Regions from separate parts of the Homo sapiens genome. Here all the other regions are linked to region 1. Evidence: promoter capture Hi-C in 16 types of primary human blood cells and fetal thymus (Javierre and others, 2016). All regions are on one chromosome and are shown on one strand. The core of a region is centred on a gene start or on the middle of the fragment in contact, and the rest is flanking DNA. Distances in the headings are between cores, read along the strand shown.

Region 1 (4,204 bases), core at 899-3,398:
ACTATGTAACACAAGAAATTAGTGAGGTATTTGGGAATATTCAGCCTAAACAATAGAAATCCAAGAAAGACATGACAGCCAAGAGATAATGTGCTTTACTTGGATTAAAGGGTGGTGACCAATGGTTCATATGACAGGAAGGCAATCTCAGCTTGGCATACAAAGAACTTTCAGGATGTGAATTTTTCAAAGAAAAAATTCTAGCAATCAAATTTGAAAGTTAGCAAATCTCCATGGATTGATTTATAAATCTAGTAAAAATTCTAGCAAATACTTTTAAGGAATTAGGTTATTCCAACTATAGGAGAATAGAGACCCATAAAAGGTAAATCAATTTTGAAAAAGAAGAGCAAAACAGTTACTCTTGCCTAAACAATGATAAGATGTACCGCAAAACTGTATTGATAAAACCTGATGGATCTGGTGCAGCCATAGGTAAATAAGTCAATGGAACAGAAGAAAGAGTTTAGTGACAGACAGCACTCCAATCAATTGCAAAATGAATGACTATTCAATGGGTGTTGTTGAGGAAACTGATGCATGAATGATAGAGGAAAAACGAGTTGGAAAATTTACATAACATACAAAGATGGATTCAGGAACTAAGTGAGAAAGATAAGCTCTAAGGCAAATGGAAGAAAATGTAAAACTACATACCTACAATTTGATGGGGTGGCAGGAATTTAATAAGACTTCCAAAGCACAAAGCATTCGGGGGAAATTATACAAGTGTCTATTTTAAAATTGAGGATTTTGAGTGATAACATATAAAAAGTTATCAGATTTCTGACAGGTTGGGAAAAGTTATTTGCAATGTCAATGCTATAAGGTTAATATCTAGGCAATATGAGGAATACCACAAGTAAATATTTAGGATATACAAGCAAACCCACAAGAAAAAGGTAGGAAACCTATTTGGAAAACAGTCCTATCAAAATGGACCCATGAGACTTTGGTTTCCTCATTTATCCATTCAATAAATATTTATTGAGTGCCTATTATACACCAACACTCTTCTAGGCCCTGGGGATACAGCAGACAAAATTCTCTGACCTCATGGAATTTAAATTCCAAAATGTTCTTTCCCACCAATAGGAAAAAGAAATTAGTTTCTACTAAGTGAATTTTCCCTTTAAATTACAATTACATAATTTTAAAGTCGGAAGGATCTTTAAGGTGCCTTTATTTTAAATTCATACTTTTGTATGGTGACAAATGGTAGCTCAGGGGCATAGAGGTTGACACCTTCCCAGCATTTAGACTATAAGCTCGACGGTTAAGTGGATTCAGAATGGCAGAGACTAAATCCCGACTTTTCTTCTACAGCCTATGTTGGCAACGGGTCTGAGCTTCAGTTTATTCATCAGTATAATGGCACCAATGATGAGACTTCACATAAAATTGGTATAAATATAAATATGGTATTTTGAAACAGAACTGCATCGGACACATGGTAAAAACTCAATGTTAGCTATTTTTATTTCTATACTTTGATTATGATATGATTCTACAATTATTTTCCTGTACACCATACTTCAAAAATGGTAACCTCTCTGGGTTACCAATCAAGTAACTAATTTTTTAAAGTAATCATCAAAAAAGGAAGTTATATACTCTTTATTATATTATACCCTAAAAGTTTATGAAATGTGTCTCATGGATTAACCATTTACCCTCATGTGTGAAATCTCAACTCAGGATTTTAGGGCTGGAAGGGATGTGACAGACGATCTTGCCAAGCCCGGCCCTTCTTCTACAAGGACGTCTTCAGAGATCTGGAGGAGGAAAGGGCCTTGCCCTGAGTTCGCTGAGCCAGAACAATAGGACTTCTTCTGTAGTTGTGAAACTTGTCAGTTGTTGAAGTCAGGTTAATGTCATCTGGCTGGCTTTTTAAAAGGGTGTGAAGTGAGAACATGAATAATTGTCACTTGATTAGAGACCTAGACTCAGAGTTAGGTTACTCCATGTATGAAGTAACCCCATATAGTTACTTCATACATGGAGTAACCATATAGTTACTCCATGTATGAAAAATTGCAAGACTGTTGACTGTCATTCTTTGGTTTAGTGGGTGGAGCCAGCTGTCCTCATTAGATAAAGGTTGTTTATTCAACCCAAGTATAAATGGAAAAAAAAGATGCGCCCTCTGTCACTGAGGGTTGACTGACTGGAGAGCTCAAGTGCAGCAAAGAGAAGTGTCAGAGCATGAGCGCCAAGTCCAGAACCATAGGGATTATTGGAGCTCCTTTCTCAAAGGGACAGGTAAGGAAAAAAGTCTTTCTTTGAATTCCTGGAATTTAGTTGAAAATTTTGGACTTCAAAATTTGTAAGGTGTTATTGTCTAGTTAGTTCAGTTTTCTGATACAATCTGGCCAGGAAATGCATATTTTAAAGTCCTCTCACCATTTTCCAACATTGTATAATTATAGTCACATATCCACTTACTTTTGTGGCTCGTGATCTCAGCCAAGGCTAAATTCATTTGAACCTACAGAATGTTTTCTCATATTTTTTAGGAGAAAATATTTTTCTTTGAATTGAAATGGACTCTTTCTGCATTGTAGCTACTCATTGAGGTTTAGTTGCTCTTGTTGTTTTTGATGTTACTGTGTGTATGTAGAGGAAGAGAGAATTTTAAGAAATACATTTGTTTAGTTATGTAATTAATGCCTAGAAAAATTTAATAGTTTGGTGGTAACCTTCAGGCTTCTTATAATTTGGATAACCTAAATATTATTGTTTCATGCAACTTTGTGAATAATTCATGTTATGTTAGGGTTTTAATGTTTCTATGAAACTGTTCATTCATGGACTAGGTAGAATCCTTTATGTGCCTCACTTGGAAGGGGAAAAAAAGAACAAAAAAAGAAAGAAAATCCTACTGCGGGTTGGCAACTCTAAAAGGATTTTAATGGATTTATGAAACCCCCAGATTTCCTTACAGCCACGAGCTGTGAATCCACACATGCCAGCAACATTGAATACACTTTTTTTTCTGCCTGGGCACACTTATTCTAGTAAAGAGAGTGTGATGACAGAACACCTTAGACTTCAACACGCATCTGTGCTTAAAGAGGATAAAAAACAAAGAACAAAATCAAACAAGACAATGTATGAGTTGAAACTACTAAGGTTGATTTTCTCCAGGTTTCTCAGGATCTGGGCAGCGTTTTGCTTCCTCTTAATTTGGAACCCTTGCTGTGTACTCTGACTTTTTACTGCAAAACAAATTGAGAGAGGCCAGAGGTTAGAGGCCCAAACTGCATTTGGACTGTCAGTAAATACTACTTTGCTTCCCCTGGAAATCCTCCAAAAGTCTCTCCCAAACACAGGGACATTTTGCTGACACAGAAATGTTCCTTTTAAAATCCACACTGTTCTCACCCACTCTTGAACAGGTTATAATAAATATATAATTTAAAAACCTCACAAAAGGGAAGCAAGTGTCCTCCTTCTACCACCCTCCTCCCATTAAAACATGGTCATGAGAATGGAGTTCATTGTCTCATGATTGTAAGGACTAAGAGAGAGAGATTTTTTACACTAAGTCATAGAGTAGAGAGGATAAAATGGCCAACATATAAGTATTTGTCCTCACCTAAAGGAGGTACAAGTTTGACAAATAAGCAAAAGGAAAGGATTAGAGGGCAGATGACTAAAATGTTGAGTCTGAGAAAGGGCTTCATCCCTGTCTCACCTCCTTGAAAGGCTTGCAAGGCAGCGAACAAACAATAAGGTAGGTATTATTTTTACCTTACAGTTGGGTTAAAAAAAAGCCCAGAGAGGTTTGGTAATGTGCTCAACGTCACACAGCCTTGACTGCATAATTCCAGACAAGATAATCTGATTCCAATGCCTATGCCCTTGATTTGCACTGATGTCTCTTCAGACTATTCAACTCCAAAGGCGACCTTATACTTGTGGCCATTTAGGGATTGGGCCCAGCTTAGAAAGTCGGTGGAGCTGACAAAGCAATTTCCAAAGTGGGCAGATAGAGCAAGCAAGAGGAAAGCCCAATCATGAGAAGCCATTTGAATAAAACAAATAAAAAAGAATTCTAGAAAATTTAATGGCTGTGTTATAGCAAATATAGTGTCAACTAAGGGGTCTATGAGCTTTGTTCTAAAATATGAAAGGGAGAAGGGTAAAAAAGCCAAGGAGTTTTATCAAACTGAGTATTGAGTATCTACTATATGTCAGCTCT
Region 2 (4,204 bases), core at 1,242-3,741, 440 kb before region 1:
TGGAGCTGGAGGCCATTATCCTTAGCAAACTAACACAGGAACAGAAAACCAAATACTGCATGTTCTCACTTGTAAGTGGGAGCTAAATAATGAGAACAAGTGGACACAAAGAAGGAAACAACAGACACTGGGGACTATTTGAGTGTGGAGGGTGGACGCAGGGAGAGGATCGGAAAAAGTAACTAGCCTCCTATCAAGGTGGCAAAATTATATGTACACCAAGCTCCCGTGACATGCGTTTACCTATATAAAAACCTGCACATGTACCCCTGAACCTAAAATAAAAGTTAAAAATATAATAAAATAATGGATTTTATAAAGTAGTAGAAAAAGGTAAACGATTTAGAAGAAAAATAAGCAGAAGCTTTTTATAAAGAGAGGTGTGCAAGTGGTTACGAAACACATGAAATAATATGCAGATTTATTAATAATAAAAGAAATAAGAGGTAAAATAACAGCCATTTGAACATTGTAAATAGAAAATGAGGGTTAGTGGGATGGATAATAAACTTTCATGAACTGCTTATAAGCATATAGATTTGCATGAAGTTTTTGGTGGATAATTTGGCAACACATTTCAAAAGGCTTGTAATAATTTAGAATCTATTACCTATCACACCTCCTTCTGGGAATTTATTTTAAATAAATAATTTAAGGCTGGGTGTGGTGGCTCACATCTGTAAATCCCAGAGCTTTGGGAGGCCAAGGCAGGCGGATCCCCTGAGGTCAGAAGTTTGAGATCAGCCTGGCTAACATGGCGAAACCCCATCTCTACTAAGAATACAAAATTAGCCAGGCGTGGTGGCGTGTGCCTGTAATCCCAGCTACTCAGGAAGCTGAGGCAGGAGACTCATTTGAACCCAGGAGATGGAGGTTGCAGTGAGCTGAGATCATGCCATTGCACTCCAACCTGGGCAAAAAGAGTGAAACTCCATCTCAAAAAAAAAAAAAAAAGGAAATAATTAAAAAATTTAAACTAATTACAGAAAAATGTACTTATCATAGAATTATTTTTAACACAGAAAAACTGAGATGAATTTAAATGAGGTTGAACAATGACATTGGCAATTGGTCAAATACATTATGATATATTTATATAAGGATATAATATGCATGATTGAGCTGGGTGCGGTGGCTCACGCCTGTAATCCCAGCACTTTGGGAGGCCGAGGTGGGTGGATCACTTGAGGTCAGGAGTTCGGGACCAGCCTAGCCAACATGGTGAAATTTGGTCTCTACTAAAAATACAAAAATTAGCCAGGTGTGGTGTCAGGTGACTGTAGTCCCAGCTACCAGGGAGGCTGAGGCAGGAGAATTGCTTGAACCCGAGAGGCGGAAGTTGCAGTGAGCCAAGATCATGCCACTGCACTCTAGCCTGGGTGACAGAGCAAGACTCTGTCAAAAAAAAAAAAAAATGCATGATTGAAAGAATAATATAAAATATAGAAGAATGCTTAATGACATGAGAAATTAGTCACAATATCTTGTAAAAGACAAAAGTAGCTTATGATGCCATAATGTGACATGATTTCATTTTTATAAAATATATGCTGCAGGAGTATGTGTTTATATGTGTATGTATATCTATGTCTAAAAAGATACAATTATAGATAATTTTACATTTTATTCCATAAGTTTTTCTGAATTTAAAAATATCATAAAACAACATGTTACTTACATAAAATTTTAGATTTGTAGTTAGAAATATTTAAAATAATTTAAAATGTTGCATTCTGTTATTAAATATTATCAGGCCCTTCAACTGTGTCTGACTACTGAAATAAGTCTATTATTAAATAGGTGTAGTGCTTTCTTAAAAATATTATACTCAAACATTAATTGAAAAGCTTACATGTTAAACACATATTCTTCTTCCAGCAAAATGAAATGTCACCCCGAGTTACCTTGGGTCACCAAGGGTCCCAGTTAGCTTTGTACTGATATTTGGCCGTGTCTTGTAGAACTGCATGATGTCATCCTTTTTTGTAACCATTTGCAACTTTAGTTTCTATGGGGACCAAGGAACATCCTAGGGCAAGAATTAAAACAGAGTCAATTGTTTTGGTAGAAATTCACTAGGTCAGGACCGTATCACAGAAGAGAAATGAGGGACCTGAAGAGAGAACTCACCATAAAGAAAGGAGTCGGGCAGGGTGAATGAGTCAATTTAGTAGTAGTTCCTGAAAGTCAGAAATGGGTCATGTTTCAGGAACAGTGTGGCAATCTGAACCTGAACACTTCCCATCCAATTATTTCAGCAATCATTGTACCTTGCCCTCTGGGGGAAATGGGGCAGTGTCTGTAAAGAAACTTGCTGTATCTCAAGGAATTCTGTAATTCTTATAGGTCCCAAAAATCTTCTGTGATGCAGCTCAACCTGCTCTACTCTTAGCAGAGTGTAATGTGTAGGGAGAAGTTGTTCTTTTCTCTTTTTTTGAGATGGAGTTTCACTCTTGTTGCCCAGGCACAATCTTGGCTCACTGCACCTCTGCAACCTCTGCCTCCTGAGTTCGAGCGATTCTCTGCTCCAGCCTCCTGAGTAGCTGGAATTACAGGCATGTGCCGCCACGCCTGGCTAATTTTGTATTGTTAGTAGAGACAGGGTTTTGCCATGTTGGTCAGGCTGGTATCAAACTCCTGACCTCAGGTTGTCCACCCGCTTCGGCCTTCCAAAGTGCTGGGATTACAAGCGTGAGCCACTGTGCCCAGCTGACCTTGTTCTTTTCATTTGCAAGAGATGTCACCATGAAGACTGGGAGAATCCACTGTGGCCAGGTGAATTAGCAGGCAGCTGATGTGCGCGAGGGCAGAGGACTTTCCGGAGTCAAGATTGGACAAATGGAACTCAGTGAAGCAAGGGCTGGGAACAGGTGGTAGCTTAGAATGATTCATTAGATTAGTTTTGCCAGACACCACTTGGAAACCCAAAAGTATTTTGGAGGAATTTCACAAAGGACTGGCGTCTTGGCATGAGTTGGTAGGTTCATTTAGCTATTAAGATTTAGATGTTAATGTTATACTTGCAGTTGGCTTTGCAGGGAAAAAAAGAAAAAAATAGAAATTAAAAAATTTTTAAAAAAGAAAAAACATTTAGATGTTAAAGTTAATGTTGGCTAATTTTTAGCCTTAAGCTGGAGAAGCTTGTTCAGGCGTGAGCAGGTATATGCAAACCTATCCTGAAGGGTTGTGGGAGCTGAGAGGCTGAAGAAAGTGACTGACAAATCCAGTTTTTCAGAAAGAAATATTTAACAGGGTCTTATGAACCAAAGTGACTCTCCAGAGGCCATGAGATTACACATCCTCGCATCCACCCTCCAGAAAGTATTCTAAGACTTGGGCAGTTGGTCCCATCTCAAACTTATGACCACTGGGGAGGTCAGATAAGCATCTTTATGAGGGGTTGTCTATGCTAGATGCTTGGTTTAAAAACCTTGCTGCAGAACACCTTTGCATGCAGGAGCCAGACATTGCTCTTCATGGAGGTTTTGCTTCAAGATGGCGCCACTCTTGCCACGCAACAGGCTGTTTGCCAACAAAACTGTAGGACATTAAGATTACCCGTGATATTGTTTCTCTTTCTTTCTTTTTTTTTTTTTTTTTGAAATTTATCTGGGAGTGCTGCTTTATTTTTTGACAAATCTGAGTACTTAATGGATCTGGATGCTTATAAAAGTTTTATTCATTCATTGAATGTCTATTCATTGAGAAATCTCTATGCATTTGGGAATACGAAGACTTTAAAACATAGTCTTTGCCTTCTAGTGGCGTAAAGTCTAATGTATGAAACAGAAAAATGTGGCAAAAGGGATGGTCAGAGCGGGCACAAGGAGTATTAAAGCCCTCAGGTGGAGTACCTAACCCAAGTAGAAGGGTGGGGTCAGGGACTGTTCCCCAAAGGAGGTCACTGACAGTTCCTACTGATCTTGACCATAGCTGCGGTCCCCTGTGACAGCAGTAGGACAGTTCAATGTACTGATGTGGGAAACAAACTCTATTTAATAACTGCTAAATGGTGCTGAGAATGAGTTAAGGTTAGAGATAATCGGCAAACTGACATAGAGGCTTAAAAATCTTAAAAATCCCTATAGGATGTTTGGTTATTGACAGAACCAGTTAATATTGAAAATCAATTAAATAGATAAATTCGGCCAGGCGCGGTGGGTCACAACTGTAATCCCAGCACTTTGGGAGGCCGAGGCGGGCG
Region 3 (4,204 bases), core at 1,278-3,777, 410 kb before region 1:
TGGAACTAGCCAGTTAGCTCATACTGAGAAACCCCTGAGAGAGAAAACTACTGCATCTCATTACAACCACTGAAGCGGTGAGGTAGGAATTAAAATCCCTCAGGAAAGAACACCTCACTTGGAAGACTGACTGTTTTTACCCTTTGGCCCAATTACGAGCCAGATTTGAATTTCTGTTTGATTGTGGGTGATAATCTCTTTGACCAGGCACATTTCCACATTGCCTTTCCCCTTGTTTAACTAGAATGTCTCTAGGGAATGCTAACAAATTGTTAAAAATCAAATCAAAATTAAAATGAAAGAAATATCAAAAGAAAAAATAAATTATTTTGGGTCATTCTAGGAAATATCTAGTCTGTGAGACACAGTTTAGCTGGGGAGAAGATATACATAACAAGAGAAGAGTTACCTAGCCATATAAGATTTTAGATTTGATGTACTGAAGAATCATATTCTGATTTTACTGATACATATTTGATTCCTTTGGTTGAGGAATACTTTTTAAAAGTCCTAATAAGGGCCAGGTGTGGTGGCTCATGCCTGTAATCCCAGCACTTTGGGAAGCTGAGGTGGATGGATCCCTCGAGCCCAGGAGTTTGAGACCAGCCTGGGCAACATGGCAAAACCCCATCTTTACTAAATATACAAAAACTAGCTGGGCATGGTGGCTCACACCTGTGGTCCTAGCTACTTGGGAGGCTGAGGTGGGAGGATTGCTTGAGTCCAGGAGGCAGAGGTTGCAGTGAGCCAAGGTTGTGCCACTGCACTCCAGCCTGGGTGACAGAGCCAGACTGTATCTCAAAAAAAAAAAAAAAAAAAAAAAAAAAAAAAAAAAAAAAATTAAAGGTCCTAGTGCAATAGTCATTAAAAGTGTTTAGGCAATACAAAGTTAGTGTAATCAGCAATTATACATTTTATTAAAATACTTGCAAGTTTGGTTTGAAATTTAGGATCACGTATACCTGTGGGGATTAGAAGAGCTCAGGGAGTGAAAGGTGCTGCTGCTTTCATGAGCAGCCAGACAGAAGCCAGGTCCTAAGGACACTGAATGTCAGACAGTTGAAGTGACTTCCCTATGGACACATGATTTGTGATTGGAAGAGAATCCAGGTTCTGTATTTTGATTTGACAGATGTTCGATGAACACCTCTGGGTGTCACTTTCCCTAGGCCGCTCATTTTCTGCTTCTCCCTTCACCTGTATTCCTTACTCCTAGGGGAGACTGAGCAGCATCTCTGCATCACCCCCATGTCTGCCCTCTCTCCCCTCCTAGCTGTGTTATGGCTTCTTACCCCTTCCGGAGAAGACTGATGGGATGATGTGCTGATGGGATAGGGAAGGTGGGGAAGGGGATTGAGAGGAAGGAAGAGAAAAAAATTCTTTCCTTTCACCACTAACTTCTAGGCTTTGCATCACAAAGGTGAAGGGAGAAAGGGGATGAGAGTCCTGTCCGCAGCTTTTAGTTTTCATCCTTTAACCTGCTGTAGCCTTTGTTTCTGCCTCTCTACCCCTGTAAAGTTGTGTAGATGCTGGAAAGAGTGCAGGCTTTGGGTCTGACAGACTTGTTAGTCCCAGCTGAGTCACAGACTCCGCTGCATGTGCAGGTCAGGTTACCTAAATTTTTCAAGTTTCAGTTTGTTCAGGTGTAAAATGAGGTGGGTGATAATACCTCCTTTAGATGACTATTTTTTAAACCCGAATATAGCCGTGTCACCAACCTGCTTATATACTTCAGGATTTTCCCATCGATAGGATAAAGACAACCTCTTTTCCATGTTCTCTGAGGTTTTGTCGTTGTTCGTCTCTCCTTCAGCCCTTGCTTTTTCTGCCCGAGCTCTTCTACCCTTCCTTGGGCTTGCCAGGTTCCCTTGGCCCCAGGAAAAGCCTTCTCTGGCTGGAGCTTTCTCTTTGCTCCTCTTGGTTTTGTTAATGCCGGAATCTCAGCTCAAACCTCTCTACCCATGACCACCTCGTCTAGGTCAACTATCCCTTTCCTTGCCCCATTCCTGTCAGCTAAAGGCTTTCACAGCTTTCTGTATGCCATTTGTCATCCTTGCAACTTGACACTTGTCTTCCTCACAAGGTTTTTAGTGCATGCCCATACCTAGACTGGTGTTTGTTCAAGAGTAGGTGCGCACACATACACGCTCTTTCGCTCTCGCTCTCTCTCTCTCTCTGCTGCTGTTTCATGGCAAAAGCGTGTTTCTGTCATTCCAAGTTATAACCAGAATACTTAAAAATAATAAATACAGTGTAATGGTGGTTTCATAATACAGGTTCAACAGCAGTTACTGGTTTTGGAGGAGGTAGGGTAACTTATAATAGAGGGAAATGCAGGTTTCAAGTGACCTTGAAACCAAATAATGTAATGTTTCCTTTTCAAGAGACTTATTTGTAGTTAATCACTTAGAAAGCTTACATACAAATATGGGGAAGAGATGTAGTCAGGCAAGATTAGGAGTTATATTTTGTATCTTCTACATGAGCACATTTTTGTTTGTTTGTTTTAAAGTGTCTAATGTTAATTTTCTTTTTAAACTACTTATGAGCTTTTGTGGGAAGGCTTGGGAAAAGAATTAGCATTTATAACATTGTTTCAATGGAAGACTGTATTCCAAGTTCCAATTAAGTGACCTGCAAACAAGCTTTTGGAAGCTAGCACATTCACAATGAGTTGCTCTACTTTTGGCCTCTACGTGTTGGCATCTAGTTTTAAAGAAAAAAGTATCCAGAATTCCACTGGTCTTTGATTTTAAACACATTCTTAGAAGTTCGGAATTCTTTATTAGTGGAAAATCTTGATTTCATATTTTAAGCAATAGAATTGGAAAGTGGATTAGGATGGCTGCATACAAATATCCTAATTGGAAGTATATGAAAATATGTGTTTCCATTAACTTTCAATTGCATGTTAGTTTAAAAAGAAAAGAAGAAAACATTTTGATGGGGGTACAGTAAATCCTAAATGTTTCTTAGGTGAGCTCAGATATGGAGGGTGGTTAGACACCAAGGGTGGGGGATTTCTTGAAACTGACATAGCAGCATTCTTGCTCAAACTAAATTCTACAAGGACAGAGAGAGAAGCCCATGGTTAGGCCTAGTCAAGCAGAAGACTTGGAGGGGCCTGACTAAAGTTTTGGTCAAAGGAGAGAGTCTGTCAATGGGAAGTGAGATCCAAGGACAGCATCTCATGATTTGCACAATCACATTCCGCAGATAATGGGAACATTGTTCAGGATAAAACAGCTACTTTGGTATCAGAACAGTTTGCTATGCTCATGAGTCAGTTTTTTCTTATCTCTGCTTTTTTATGGATTCTGCATTGACTGTCAGCCCCCACTCTTTCCCTTTTTTTCTATTGTGCTGCCTCAGGGCTTCTGTCTTCTGTTCCCTTAGGGCTTCTCTGTGCTCTCTTTTCTCTGTTGTTTTTTTTCTGGGTTTGCTATTTTGTATTCAGACTACTTTCAAATGTACTCACATTTAGAAGTTGACTAGAATTGCATCTAACTGGAAGTGGAGGAGGGAAGATGCATCATTCCTCTCCCTGTTTCAGAGGAGCAGGTGCTGAGAGAGGAAGGGAGATGGTGGACCAGGTCTGTGGGGATTTCTCCTGGATGCAGATTCTGTTTTTCTAATGTGTGCATTTGGACTTCTTTGCAACTCTTCATGGTAATGCCCCTCCCCACAGGTATGGAAAAATGACAGTAGTCATTTCTACTGAAATTATTGCTGTCGTAAAAAATCTTAAAGGCCATGAGGAACGGGTTCACAGACACATTCACTTGGAGACAAATAATTATTGCTTCTAACAGAAATGGAATGTTGTCTGCTGGCTTGACCTTTCTGTGGCAAGAATAAAGCCTTATTCTTAGGAAAGATCATAGTTATTGAGTCATATTGGGTATTCCAAGGACAAATTTCTGAAAAGATGCAGGGCCATTGAGAGGTTTTTCCAGTCAGATAGCAATCTGATCTGCAAAATAAGGGTGTTGGGTTCAGTACTGTTAAGATAGACAATCATCATGCTTTAAAACTTACACATCCTTTTAAGCTGTCCCAGTCAACTATCTGTTTGAGAACAAGTAGACAATTAAGCATTCATTTGGTTGAAGAATCTTAACATTGTTCTAATTTTGGTTGTTGCTTATTTTTCTTCTTGATTTTACATTTTACCATAAAGAAATTTTGCTTACCTAATCACTGG
Region 4 (4,204 bases), core at 905-3,404, 390 kb before region 1:
ACTTCACCTCCCAATCCTTCAGTTTCTTTATTTGTGCAATGGGCATAATAGTAACCGTTCTGAAAATAAAGTGAGATAATCTATACGAAGTGCTTAGCACAGTATTGGGCACGCAGACAATGTTAAATAGATGGTAACTATTATTATTAATGATAAATACTCCATTCCCACTACTGCCATCACAGCTGTTGCTTTTCTTAAAATCCCTTGACTTCTTTGACGTTAGCATCCTACACCCATACACCACTCTGCCATTCATAAGCATATTTCTGAGACCTTAAACTTAGTTATAGCTATCACGACAACTTCCCATTCTAGTTGCCATTTACTTCGTTTCCACTACTGCTAATGCTCCGGAACCTCACCCAGGCTTGGCCTCTTTCAAGGCAGCATGGATGTATTCATTCTTAAAGTAGACAAGGCCTCAAGGTATGCCATTCTCTTGGTGGCTCTTTCAGTTGTCCTATCTCCTTCTGTTTGACCTGTCTGGGAAACACCGATGGCAGATCCAATCCAGTCATTTGCTTTTTTGCGCCAACACCTGGGCAAAATAAAATCCACCCTCCTTGCTGTAGCCCACAATATCCTCCATGTTCTGGTCCACTGCCTATATCTCCTGCCTTATCGTGGTCCTCTCTCCCTGCCCACTGTGCCCCACTTGAACTTGCTTCTTACAGGTACTGGACTCAACAGAGTCTTTTCTGCCATAGATCTTCTGAAAATGCCTGAGTGTTCCTTCTGCTTAGACCTTTTCATTCTTAGGATCTCAAATGTCACCACTTCAGAGAGTCCCTGCCCACTGTGAGTAGAGTATTTTTATAAGTAAGCTCTCTATCACTGTACCCAGTGGGATGCCCTCATAGGTCTCATCACAGGTTGTGATTACCTTATTGTCTATTCGGTTTTTTTTTTGTTTGTTTGTTTTGAGATGGAGTCTCGCCCTGTTGCCCAGGCTGGAGTGCAGTTGCACAATCTTGGCTCACCACAACTTCTGCCTCCTGGGTTCAAGTGATTCTCCTGTCTCAGCCTCCCGAGTAGCTGGGATTACAGGTGCCTGCCACCACACCCAGCTAAGTTTTGTGTTTATAGTAGAGACGGAGTTTCTCCATGTTGGCCAGGCTGGTCTCAAACTCCTGACCTCAAGTGATCTGCCTGCCTGGGCCTCCCAAAGTGCTGAGATTACAGGCGTGAGCCACCGTGCCTGGCCCGTTATTGTCTATTTGATTGACTATCTTTGTGGCTAGATTAGGCTCCACGAGGGCCAGGACCATGACTGTTTTGGTCACTAGTGTATACCCAGTACTGTCTATAATGTGTGACACATAAAACGCGTTAAGGCTCACATAATCCCAGCACTCTGGGGGCCTGAGGAGGGAAGATTGCTTGAGCTCAGCGGTTTAAGACCAGCCTAGGCAACATAGTGAGACTTTGTTTCTACAAAAGATAGAAAAAAATTACCTTGGCATGATGGTGCATGCCTTGATTCCAGCTACTTAGATGGCTGAGGTGGAAGGATTGCTTGAGTCTGGGAGGGCGAGGCTGCAGCGAGCTGTGAATATGCCACCATACTCCAGCCTGGGTGACAGAAAAAGACCCTGTCTCAAATAAATAAATAAATAAATAAATAAATAATAAATAAATAAATAAGTTGTTAATAAGTATTCATCAAAAGAATGAGAAAATGAAGAAATCACACAGTCATGTAGGTTGGCTCTCCTGCAAATGTATGTTTTCCACACTCAGAGCCTTGGCTCGGCAGGTCCACTGCTTCTGCTCAGTTTTCCTCATGTCTGCTGTTGCTGCCCCAGCCCCCTGTTTGGAGCAACTATAACCTTCTACCCCTCTCTCAGCAGATGGCACTGAGGCTGGGATCTGCTCACTTCAAGTCCCTGTGCTTGGTGAACCTATCTGCTACTGCATTTGGCTTTTAAATTCTCATACAGTTTTGGGAAAAGAGGTGTCCTTTATCTAGTTAAGACTAACCCCTTCAGCTGTGTTCTTGGTCTGCTGGACTCAACCAGGATCTTGCTGTACCAGTTACTTCTTCCCTCTCTGTGCTTCTGTGTTTTCAACCCTTTGTCTTTATTACCTCCTTTCCCCCAACTTTACTTGCTCAATAACACCTTTCCTATCCCTAAACAAACAAAAAACAAAGTTAAAAAATCCTAAGAATTAGCTACAGAAAAATCTCTTGATCTTGAATCTCCTGCTAGCTTCTTCATTGTACCTTTCCTACTCAGAATCTTTAAAAGAGTTGCCTGTATTCTCTGTACCTTTCCTACCTAGAATCTTTAAAATTTAAAAATCTTCATTGTACCTTTCCTATCCAGAATCTTTAAAAGAGTTGCCTGCATTATCTGTCTTTAGTTCATTACTGTCCTTTTCTCAAACCTCCTGCGGTCAGTAGGCTATGGCCTACTTCACTGCATGCCACATCGTGGGCCCCTGATAGCTTTGTAATTGCTGAATCTAACGAATGCTCTAGATTTATTCATACAACTGAGGACTCCCTTCTTTAAATTCTCCTTTTGGTTTCTGAGACACCACTTTCTTTTTTTGTTTGTTTTGTTTTTTTTTTTTTTAATACTTCTCTCAATGTATCTTCTCAGCTTTCTTCATTAGCTTATCTCTTTTTTCTTTAAGCATTTATATTTTTAGATTTCTGGACCTGACTCTCTGTTTAACTATGTTTCTCTTTTTTTTGAAATGGAGTCTCACTCTGTTGCCTAGGCTGGAGTGCAGTGGCACTGTCTCAGCCTCCTGGGTTCAAGCAATTCTCCTGCCTCAGCCTCCTGAGTAGCTGGGATTACAGGCGCCTGCCACCATGCCTGGCTAATTTTTGTATTTTTAGTAGAGACAGGGTTTCACCATGTTGGCCAGGCTGGTATCAAACTCCTGACCTCAGGTGATCTGCCTGCCTCGGCCTCCCAAAATGCTGGGATTACAGGTGTGAGCCACCGCGCCTGGCCCCATGTTTCACTTTTTGTATTTACCATCATGGTCAATCTCCCTACTCTTCCACCAGGAACATCAAGAAATGTAGGTGTCATCCTAAACCCCAGCATCAGTCATTTTAGATATTCATAGTCATCAAATGCTGTAAATTTTCTGTCTTAAATATCACTCCCATTCGTTCCCTACTTTCTGTTCCTATTGCTGTGCCTCAGTCCAAGCTCTGTTCATCTTTCACCCATTCTACTGCAATAGTCTCCTGGTCTACAGTCTGCCGCTTTGCTTCCAGACTCTTTTTCTAAAGCACAAAACTAAGCATTTTTATGCTCCCTGCTTAAAAGAATTTATTGACTTACTGTTGGATCTAGGATAAAATCTATTCTTCTTGCTGTGTCATTTAAGATTCTCAGCTTCTTGATTCTTGCCTGTGTATTTAGCCTTATTTCTTGTGTTGTCCATGCTGCACCCATTGTTTAAGATATGCTGAACTACTTAGAGGTCCCCTGAGGCACTGGGCCATGTCATGTCTTCATGCCTTAGTTGACGCTGCTGCCATCCCATGGAAACTTTTACATTCTTCACATGATCAGACAACAGCCACTGATCTTTTTTATTTAAAAAAAAAATTAGTTTTGGCTGGACATGCTGTAATCCTAGTACTTTGGAAGGCTGAGGCGGGTAGATCACTTGAGGTTAGGAGTTTGAAACCAGCCTGGCCAACATAGTGAAACTCCATCTCTACTAAAAATACAAAAACATTAGCCAGGCATGGTGGTGGGTACCTGTGATCTCACCTGCTCAGGAGGCTGAGGCAGGGGAATCGCATGAACCCAAGAGGCAGCGGTTGTAGTGAGCTGAGATGGCACCAATGTACTCCAGCCTGGGTGACAGAGCAAGAGTCCGTCTGAAAAAAAAAATAATTTTTAACTATAGTAAAATACATATAATATGAAATTTACCATCTTAACTTTTTTTAAACACATAGTTCAGTAGTGTTAAGTATATTCACATTATTGTGCAACCAATCTACGGAATCTTTTTATTCTTGCAAAATGGAAACTCCATACCCATGAAAAACAAATCCTCACTCCCTCCTTCCCCTGGCTTCTGGCGACCACCATTCTACTTTCTGTCTCTATGAATTTGACTGTGTAGCTGCCTCATAGAAGTGAAATCATGTAGTATTTATCTTTTTGTGACTGGCTGATTTCACTTAACATAACGTCCTTAAGGTTCATCCATGCTGTATCAT
Region 5 (4,204 bases), core at 1,153-3,652, 370 kb before region 1:
TCTGCTACTTCATCTTGGAAGCAGAAGTTTGAGATATGAAGGGTTTCAGATAAGCTAGTCCTTTTTTATACTCAGGGAAACCACTGGAATGTTCTGTGAAAATCAGCATCATGTCAGCCCAGCAGTTATTCTGTTTATTAGATATCCCTTTCAAATTATTGCTTTTGTGTGCTTTACCACAGGTGTGAAATCACTGGACATTTAACTGTCATATAGCATTTGTTATCATACACATTGTAGATTTTTTCTCTCTTTTAAAGAAAATATCTGAAGCAGGTGTATAAAGTAATCTTCACTGTAAAATAATTAGTGATTGTTTGAACTGGTATTTTTTTTTACAGTTAAAAAGAACTGAAAATACTGTAGTAGCATTTCTTTGTTTCTCTTTATTTTCTTCAGAGACTGCAAATAGGACATTTCAAGAAAAAGGCATCCTGGTAGGAGAGAGCAGAAGTTTTAAACCTCATTTGACCTTCATGAAGTTGTCAAAATCACCGTGGCTCCGTAAGAATGTGAGTGCATGTTCTTATTGCAAGCCTGTTTTACCAGGCCACACCAGCCATAAGCATGGTCTGGAGCACGAGTGACATTGCTGTGGTCTCTGACACTACTCTTGCTTCTGGGTTTCCAAGTCAGGTTGGTTCCAATTCCCAGGGGTGCTGAGGATGCTCCTGGCCTTCCATGGAGGCTATTTCAGCTTTGCCTGCCTTTGCCACGATGGCTGTTCTTGCATAGTCTGGCCATCATTTATTTCTACCACTGTTGCCTCACCTGCTTCATCCCCTGAAGAGCCTCGAGGTGGTGCCAGAGTTCACTTTTGCTGCTATTCTTGCTTGTGGTTATTTGCATCCTGTTGCTCTCAAAGCTTCCTCTGCTGGCCTGTTACGCTGGTGCTGCTCACCGCAACTGGGTAAGCTTTTTTTACCCCTCTTCCTGTCGCTCTTCAAGGTTTCCAAAAGACCATCTTTCAGCAGTTGCCTCAATTAAGGCCTTGGAACCAGGTATACCGGGGACTGGGCATGAGGGTAACTGAGGGACCCCCTTTCCTGGAGGTACTTTAAAGTACTTCTCCCTAAGGATGGTCAACCCAGTGGCACAATCCAAGTGACAAGTCTTTTGACTTCCCCTGTCTCAGGGTGACTTACTGCCTTTATAGGCCACCCCTTCTTCCCGCAGAAGTCGGAGCAACTTTTGACTTCCGTCTAGGTTCATGAGCATTTCTCCTAAAATCCTAAGGCCACCCTTCATTTTGTTTCCTATTTCAGCCTAGGGGGTTCCTCATGCAAATTCAGACATCTGATGGCCTGCTCTCATATACCAGAGTTTTGGAGATGGGCATGCAGATTAATATCCGCTCCCTGCTCTCCATGACCCTTTGCTGCAGTTAAGACTGATTTGCAGCTCTAGAAATGAAGGCCATGTGTAGTAGTAAGTAGAATTTTTTTTTTCTAAATTTGCCACATTTTGTATTTAATGTCTCTGTCCTCAGAAAAGTCTTTTGGGCCCTTTAAATCATGGGTTTGGGTGACTCACCATCCTATAGTTAAGAGTTTTCTACAAACTATTGCTGAAAATCTCAGAAAGATATCTTGCATGGTTTTTTGGATTACATTGCCACAAATTTAGTAATATCCATATTAGGTATCATTCCAGTATCATATTAGGTATGTTAGGTAAAAATAATTGGTGTAAATGATAGATTTTGAAATATGGGATGACAACAATTTACAAAACTTGTAGACTGACAGTTTGATTCTTTACTGGTTATCTTTCTTGTTTTGCTTTCAAATGGATTGTCCTCTTCCAAGTGGTTTCAAACTTAATCACAGAATGACAATCAGTGGTGAAGGTAATATCTCCGTTTCAAAATGTTTCTTTGTCTTTATAATATTAACTTTGAAATGAGAGCACCCAAGGACATTTATTTAAAAAAATGCTTAAACTATATATGTCAACATTTCAAACTGCATTTAAATGATTTATTGGCAGTTAATTTCACAGAATCAATCTTACCCTATAGAAAAGTAATATGAGACTTGGAATGGTTGTGATGTAACTGAGATCACAGTCTTATCAGTTACAGAGCACTGTCTCTGCACCTGAGAAACCCATCCCATCTCATTCTGTCTCACATTCTTCCCTCCCACTGGCCAGCTCCAGTTCACGCAGAGTCATTTCTACGTGTAAGGAGCTCCCTGTTCCAAATCATATTAATTAAGTAAATATGTATTGAGTGCCTACTATGTGCCAGACACTGGGTGCTGGGCACAGAGTGGTGATCAAAATAGAAACAGTCACTGCTTGAATGGTACATAAAATCTAAATCAGATTGCATTTTATTTAGATTAGAATGCTTAATATTTAGAAAACAAATTATGATTGTTTTTTTCTTGTAAATTTGTTTGAGTTCCTTGTAGATTCTGCATATTAGCCCTTTGTCAGATGAGTAGGTTGTGAAAATTTTCTCCTATTTTGTAGGTTGCCTGTTCACTCTGATGGTAGTTTCTTTTGCTGTGCAGAAGCTCTTTAGTTTAATTAGATCCCATTTGTCAATTTTGGCTTTTGTTGCCATTGCTTTTGGTGTTTTAGACATGAAGTCCTTGCCCATGCCTATGTCCTGAATGGTAATGCCTAGGTTTTCTTCTAGGGCTTTTATGGTTTTAGGTCTAATGTTTAAGTCTTTAATCCATCTTGAATTAATTTTTGTATAAGGTGTAAGGAAGGGATCCAGTTTCAGCTTTCTACATATGGCTAGCCAGTTTTCCCAGCACCATTTATTAAATAGGGAATCGTTTCCCCATTGCTTGTTTTTCTCAGGTTTGTCAAAGATCAGATAGTTGTAGATATGCAGCGTTATCAACAAACAACCCTATCAAAAAGTGGGTGAAGGACATGAACAGGCACTTCTCAAAAGAAGACATTTATGCAGCCAAAAAACACATGAAAAAATGGTCACCATCACTGGCCATCAGAGAAATGCAAATCAAAACCACAATGAGATACATCTCACACCAGTTAGAATGGCAGTCATTAAAAAGTCAGGAAACAACAGGTGCTGGAGAGGATGTGGAGAAATAGGAACACTTTTACACTGTTGGTGGGACTGTAAACTAGTTCAACCATTGTGGAAGTCAGTGTGGCCATTCCTCAGGGATCTAGAACTAGAAATACCATTTGACCCAGCCATCCCATTACTGGGTATATACCCAAAGGACTATAAATCATGCTGCTATAAAGACACGTGCACACATATGTTTATTGCGGCACTATTCACAATAGCAAAGACTTGGAACCAACCCAAATGTCCAACAATGATAGACTGGATTAAGAAAATGTGGCACATATACACCATGGAATACTATGCAGCCATAAAAAATGATAAGTTCATGTCCTTTGTAGGGACATGGATGAAATTGGAAATCATCATTCTCAGTAAACTATCGCAAGGACAAAAAACCAAACACTGCAGGTTCTCACTCCTAGGTGGGAATTGAACAATGAGAACACGTGGACACAGGAAGGGGAACATCACACGCTGGGGACTGTTGTGGGATGGGGGAGGGGGGAGGGATAGCTTTAGGAGATATACCTAACGCTAAATGACGAGTTAATGGGTGCAGCACACCAGCATGGCACATGTATACATATGTAACTAACCTGCACATTGTGCACATGTACCCTAAAACTTAAAGTATAATAATAATAAAATAAAATAAAATAAAGAAAACAAATTATGATATTATCATTTTCAGTAAGCCAAATAAGAATTTTTTATTTTAATTTATGGAATGAGTCTATTCCTATCACTATTATAGTGGTCAGTGTTCCTGAAAGTTTAAGGAAGTAGATCTTAGATATGGGGATTCGCAAGTCAGCCGGCGTACTGGTTGAAGCTTCAGATTTCCACCCTCTACCCTTAGATTTAGAGATGGACCTAGGACCTAAGCTTTTGATGTTCAGTAAATGCCATATATGGTTCTGATACAGATGATCTGCAGAGGAATATACTTAAGACCTGCAGGCTTAAATAAATATCCAACAGTTTCTTATGCAGCAAATCTACTGTAAAGGTTAAAACCAGTATGAAAAGGTGGCATACATACAAGATGATTTCATTTATTTACTTTACTATAATTCGTGGTTTGGTATGTAGATTATTTGAAAATATATGGTTCCTTAGTCTCAGTCTTAACGTTTTTACATT
Region 6 (4,204 bases), core at 911-3,410, 350 kb before region 1:
TTCTTCCCTAAAAAAGATGTTTTGAGGGGAGGCATAAGGTTCATACATAAATGCATCTGTCAGATGGCAGGAGATGAGACAGACTCATATAAAACTGTGTTTCCAGGTGGAAAGTGTGTACACTTAGGGAGATCTTTCATCCAGAATAGAGCTATACTCCACTTTTTGCAATGTGAACGTATTTCAAAGCAGCCAGCTCTGTTGTGATTCAGATTTATTATTTCAAACCAGACACTATTCTTTTAAAACTGTGAACTTCAAGACAACCTGATTTATATGCTTTTAAAGTAACATGAAAATACTCAAAGAAGACAAATACATGCATACCTTGTTTTATTGTGCTTTGCTTTATTGTGCTTCACAGATATTGCCTTAAAAAGACAGTTTATTTATTTATTTTTAAGAAATTGAAGGTTTGTAGCAACCCTGTATCAATTGTCTTTCTGGGCCATTTTTTCTAACAGCATGTGCTCTTTTTGTGTCAATTACATTTTGGTAATTCTCACAGTATTTTAGACTTCATTATTATTATATCTGTTATGGTGATCAGTGATCTTTGATGTTATTATCGTTATTGTTTTGGGGCACCACCATATGAATTGTATTCATATAAGATAGCAAACCAAATTGATAAATGTGTGTGTTCCGACTGCTCCACCGAACAGCCATTCATTCCCCTGTGAAGAGTCGTACATCTCTTACCTTAAATCAAAAGCTAGAAATGATACATTGGAAGGACATGCAAGAAAAAAAAAGCTAGAAATGATTAAGCTTAGTGAGGAAGGCATGTCGAAAGATGAAATAATCCGAAAGCTAGGCTTCTTGTACCAGTTAGCCAAGTTGTGAATGCCAAGGAAAAGTTCTTAAAGGAAATTAAAAGTGCTATTCCAGTGAACACACAAATCAAAAGAAAGTGAATTAGCCTTATTGCTGATATGGAAAAAGTTTTAGTGGTCTAGATAGAAGATCAAACCAACTGCAACATTCCCTTAAGCCAAAGCCTGATCCAGTGCGAGGCCCCAACTCTCTTCAGTTCTGTGAAAGGTAAGAAAGGTGAGCAAGGTGCAGAAGAAAAGTTGGAAACCAGCAGAGGCTGGTTCATGAGGTTTAAGGAGAGAAGCTGTCTCCATAACATAAAAGTGCACGGTGAAGCAGAACGTGCTGATACAGAAGCTGCAGCCAGTTATCCAGAAGATCTAGCTAAGGTCGTTGATGAAGGTGGCTGCTCAAAGCAACAGATTTTCAATGTAGACAAAACAGCCTTCTATTGGAAGAAGATGGCATCTAGGAGTTTCATAGCTACAGAAGAGAAGTCAATGTCTGACTTCACAGTTTCAAAGAACAGGCCGACTCTCTTGTGAGGGGCTAATGCAGCTGGTGACTTTTAAGTTGAAGCCAGTGCTCATTGTCCATTCCAAAAATCCTAGGGACCTTAAGAATTATTCTAAATTCAGTCTGTCTATACTTTATAAATGGAACAACGAAGCATGGATGACAGCACATCTGTTAATAGCATGGTTTACTGAGTATTTTAACTACTGCTCAGAAAAAAAAATTCTTTTCAAATGATTACTGCTCATTGACAGTGCACCTTGTCTCCCAAGAACTCTGATGGAAATGTACAAGGAGTTTAGTGTTATTTTCATGCTTGCTAACACAGTGTCCATTCTGCAGCTCATGGATCAAGGAGTAATTTAGACTTTCAAGGCTTATTATTTAAGAAATATTTTTGTAAGGCTATAGCTGCCATGAATAGTGATTATTGTGATAGATATGAGCAAAGCAAATTGAAAACCTTCTGGAAAGGATTCACCATTCTAGATGTCATTAAGAACACTTATGACTCATGGGAGGAAGTCAAAATAGCAACATTAACAGGAGTTTGGAAGAAGTTGATTCCAGCCCTCATGGATGACTTTGAGAAGAGATTCAAGACTGCATTGGAGGAAGTAACTGCAGATGTGATAGAAACAGCAAGAGAATGGCCAGGCGCGGTGGCTCACGCCTGTAATCCCAGTACTTTGGGAGGCCAAGGCGGGCGGATCATAAGGTCAGGAGATCGAGACCATCCTGGCTAACACCGTGAAACCCTGTCTCTACTAAAAATGCAAAAAATACTAGCCGGGCGTGGTGGCGGGCGCCTGTAGTCCCAGCTACTCGGGAGGCTGAGGCAGGAGAATGGTGTGAATCCAGGAGGCGGAGCTTGCAGTGAGCCGAGATCACACCACTGCACTCCAGCCTGGGTGACAAAGTGACACTCATCTCAAAAAAAAAGAAAAAAGAAAAGAAATAGCAAGAGAACTAAAATTAGGAGTGAAGCCTGAAGATGGGATTGAATTGCTGTAATCTCATGATAAAACTTTAGTGGATAATGAGTTGCTTCTTATGAATGAACAAAATAAGTGGTTTCTTGAGATGGAATCTACTCTTGGTAAAGATCCTTAAACATTGTTGAAATGACAACAAAGGATTTAGAATACTACATTAACTTAATTGATAAAACAGTGGCTTTAAAGGGTTTGAGAGAATCAGCTCCAATTTTGAAGAAGTTTTACTGTGGGTAAAATGTTATCAAACAGCATTCCATGCTACAGAGAAATCTTTCATGAAAGGAAGAGTCGATTGATGCAGCAAACTTCATTATTGTCTTATTTTAAGAAATTGCCACAACCACTCGAACCTCCAGCAAGTACTACTCTGATTAGTCAGCAACCATCAACATCAACAGACAAGACCTTCCACCAGCAAAAAGATTATGACTTGCTTAATGCTCAGATGATTGTAAGCATTTTTGGCAATAAAGTGTATTTAAAGTAAAATGTTTACATTTTTTAGATATAATATTGCACATTTAATAGACTGCATATAATGAAACATAATTTTATATGTACTAGGAAACCAAAAAATTCATGTGGCTTGCATTATTGCAATGTTTGCTTTATTGCAATAGTCTGGAACTAACCCATAATACCTCTGAGGTATGCCTGTATATGTAGCTAAATATTGCAAGGTCTTTAACCAAGGTAATTTATCTCCAAATCAGCTGGAAGAACACCTATGGATGTATACATCCTGAAAGAATCTTAATACTGACGTTTATTAAAGCATTTAAAAATGTTCAAGAGACACAATTTTACTTCCAAATTTTCATTAGACATCTTCAGAGGTCCTCATTTTACCTTTCAAAGACTTCAGCTATTTTAAACAGAAGATATTCAGTATGTCGTTTGAATTTTATATTCTGAAACATCTCAAGTCTATTTTAAGGAGAATTTTCATCTTTTCAGAATCTCTGTAAGAGAGCTGTCTTCCATCCAAGTTTTGATGAGGACCAAACATTTCTGTTTAGGTTCATTGTAAATGGAAAACTTAGATACTTCTTGTGTAGGACAGATTTTGGCCAGCTTCCCCTATCTTCTCTGCCAACCTTATAAGGTCTCTTACAAGGCCAACCTTATAAGAATTGCAGTGCCTCATTACCTTTCTCATTCCTGTTAAAAAAATTAGGAATATGTTGATATTGCTGAAAATATTACAGGACTGGCATTATGAAGCTTATATCATAGATTACCTAAATTGACACTGGACAGTTCTATTCAGCCTACCACCCCCCATCACTGTGTTCAAGCCACTGAGATTTCGCTTTCATTGCTCTTTTTCAGTTTATAGTCTTTAAATTTCCCCTTATGTGAGGTAGTTTCTCCAGATCTTTCCATCAAGCTTCTTTATTGCTGTTACACTTTCTAATTCAAAACAATTTTGCCTTTTTCAAACGCTGCCAATCTTGTATCCCCAAGCCAATCATTTCACATTGTTTTAAAAAATGATTTTTGCTTATTACAAATGCTTTCGTGGGTCACATTTGGCGATGACAATATAAACTTTAAAATCATATGTGCATCTAAAGTGATAATTTATTGTTATAATTAACCAAGTTTAATGTACACTAGAGTTCATTTGCTTATAGATATTATTGATTTTATCAATCTTACCTATATTTTATAACAATATTAGATTTGGGATACTTTGTTTTATTTCTTAATCAGATTTAATTGGCCTACCTTGGTTTGGCTTCTCTTTGATTTGATCCTAACTCAAATTTAATGTCAATTTCTTGAGGCTTGAGCCAACATTTTATGGTATACATTAATACCGTGGGACAGATTTCTGATCTTAAGATATTATTCAGAGTTCTAGGATAGAA

What was found. The method cuts DNA at HindIII sites, captures the fragments that hold promoters and counts their contacts. A CHiCAGO score of 5 or more calls a contact.
Region 2: a fragment that was not itself captured here is called in contact with the fragment with the promoter of ARG1 in region 1 in 8 of 17 cell types (total CD8 T cells, non-activated CD4 T cells, fetal thymus and 5 more); the score reaches 10.3 in total CD8 T cells.
Region 3: a fragment that was not itself captured here is called in contact with the fragment with the promoter of ARG1 in region 1 in 12 of 17 cell types (naive CD8 T cells, naive CD4 T cells, non-activated CD4 T cells and 9 more); the score reaches 12.6 in naive CD8 T cells.
Region 4: a contact is called between a fragment that was not itself captured here and the fragment with the promoter of ARG1 in region 1, in 4 of 17 cell types (naive CD4 T cells, naive CD8 T cells, non-activated CD4 T cells and 1 more). The highest score is 7.7, in naive CD4 T cells.
Region 5: a contact is called between a fragment that was not itself captured here and the fragment with the promoter of ARG1 in region 1, in 5 of 17 cell types (naive CD4 T cells, megakaryocytes, activated CD4 T cells and 2 more). The highest score is 7.4, in naive CD4 T cells.
Region 6: a fragment that was not itself captured here is called in contact with the fragment with the promoter of ARG1 in region 1 in 1 of 17 cell types (total CD8 T cells); the score reaches 5.0 in total CD8 T cells.

What each region holds. Positions count from the first base shown.
Region 1 is chr6:131,571,078-131,575,281 of GRCh38, forward strand. ARG1 (arginase 1) reads left to right here and starts at 2,149. Exons shown (of 8, transcript NM_000045.4): 1 at 2,149-2,262. The coding sequence starts at 2,206. It also overlaps a transcript of MED23 not described here. RefSeq lists an enhancer at 1,615-2,116. The HindIII fragment of the contact is 9,894 bases long and covers 1-4,204 here.
Region 2 is chr6:131,127,885-131,132,088 of GRCh38, forward strand. It overlaps LOC102723445 (a long non-coding RNA gene), which reads right to left and starts at 2,477. Exons shown (of 4, transcript XR_428022.3): 1 at 2,131-2,477; 2 at 1,853-2,029. It also overlaps a transcript of AKAP7 not described here. The HindIII fragment of the contact is 1,293 bases long and covers 1,846-3,138 here.
Region 3 is chr6:131,160,845-131,165,048 of GRCh38, forward strand. All of the region lies in intron 3 of AKAP7 (A-kinase anchoring protein 7), which reads left to right. Among named protein-coding and RNA genes, the nearest start is that of AKAP7, 27 kb to the left of the region's middle. RefSeq lists a silencer at 3,192-3,392. The HindIII fragment of the contact is 231 bases long and covers 2,413-2,643 here.
Region 4 is chr6:131,178,267-131,182,470 of GRCh38, forward strand. All of the region lies in intron 5 of AKAP7 (A-kinase anchoring protein 7), which reads left to right. Among named protein-coding and RNA genes, the nearest start is that of AKAP7, 45 kb to the left of the region's middle. The HindIII fragment of the contact is 7,868 bases long and covers 1-4,204 here.
Region 5 is chr6:131,199,062-131,203,265 of GRCh38, forward strand. It overlaps AKAP7 (A-kinase anchoring protein 7), which reads left to right. Exons shown (of 8, transcript NM_016377.4): 6 at 400-512. Among named protein-coding and RNA genes, the nearest start is that of AKAP7, 66 kb to the left of the region's middle. RefSeq lists enhancers at 879-928, 979-1,078. The HindIII fragment of the contact is 2,978 bases long and covers 914-3,891 here.
Region 6 is chr6:131,220,261-131,224,464 of GRCh38, forward strand. All of the region lies in intron 7 of AKAP7 (A-kinase anchoring protein 7), which reads left to right. Among named protein-coding and RNA genes, the nearest start is that of AKAP7, 87 kb to the left of the region's middle. The HindIII fragment of the contact is 2,783 bases long and covers 770-3,552 here.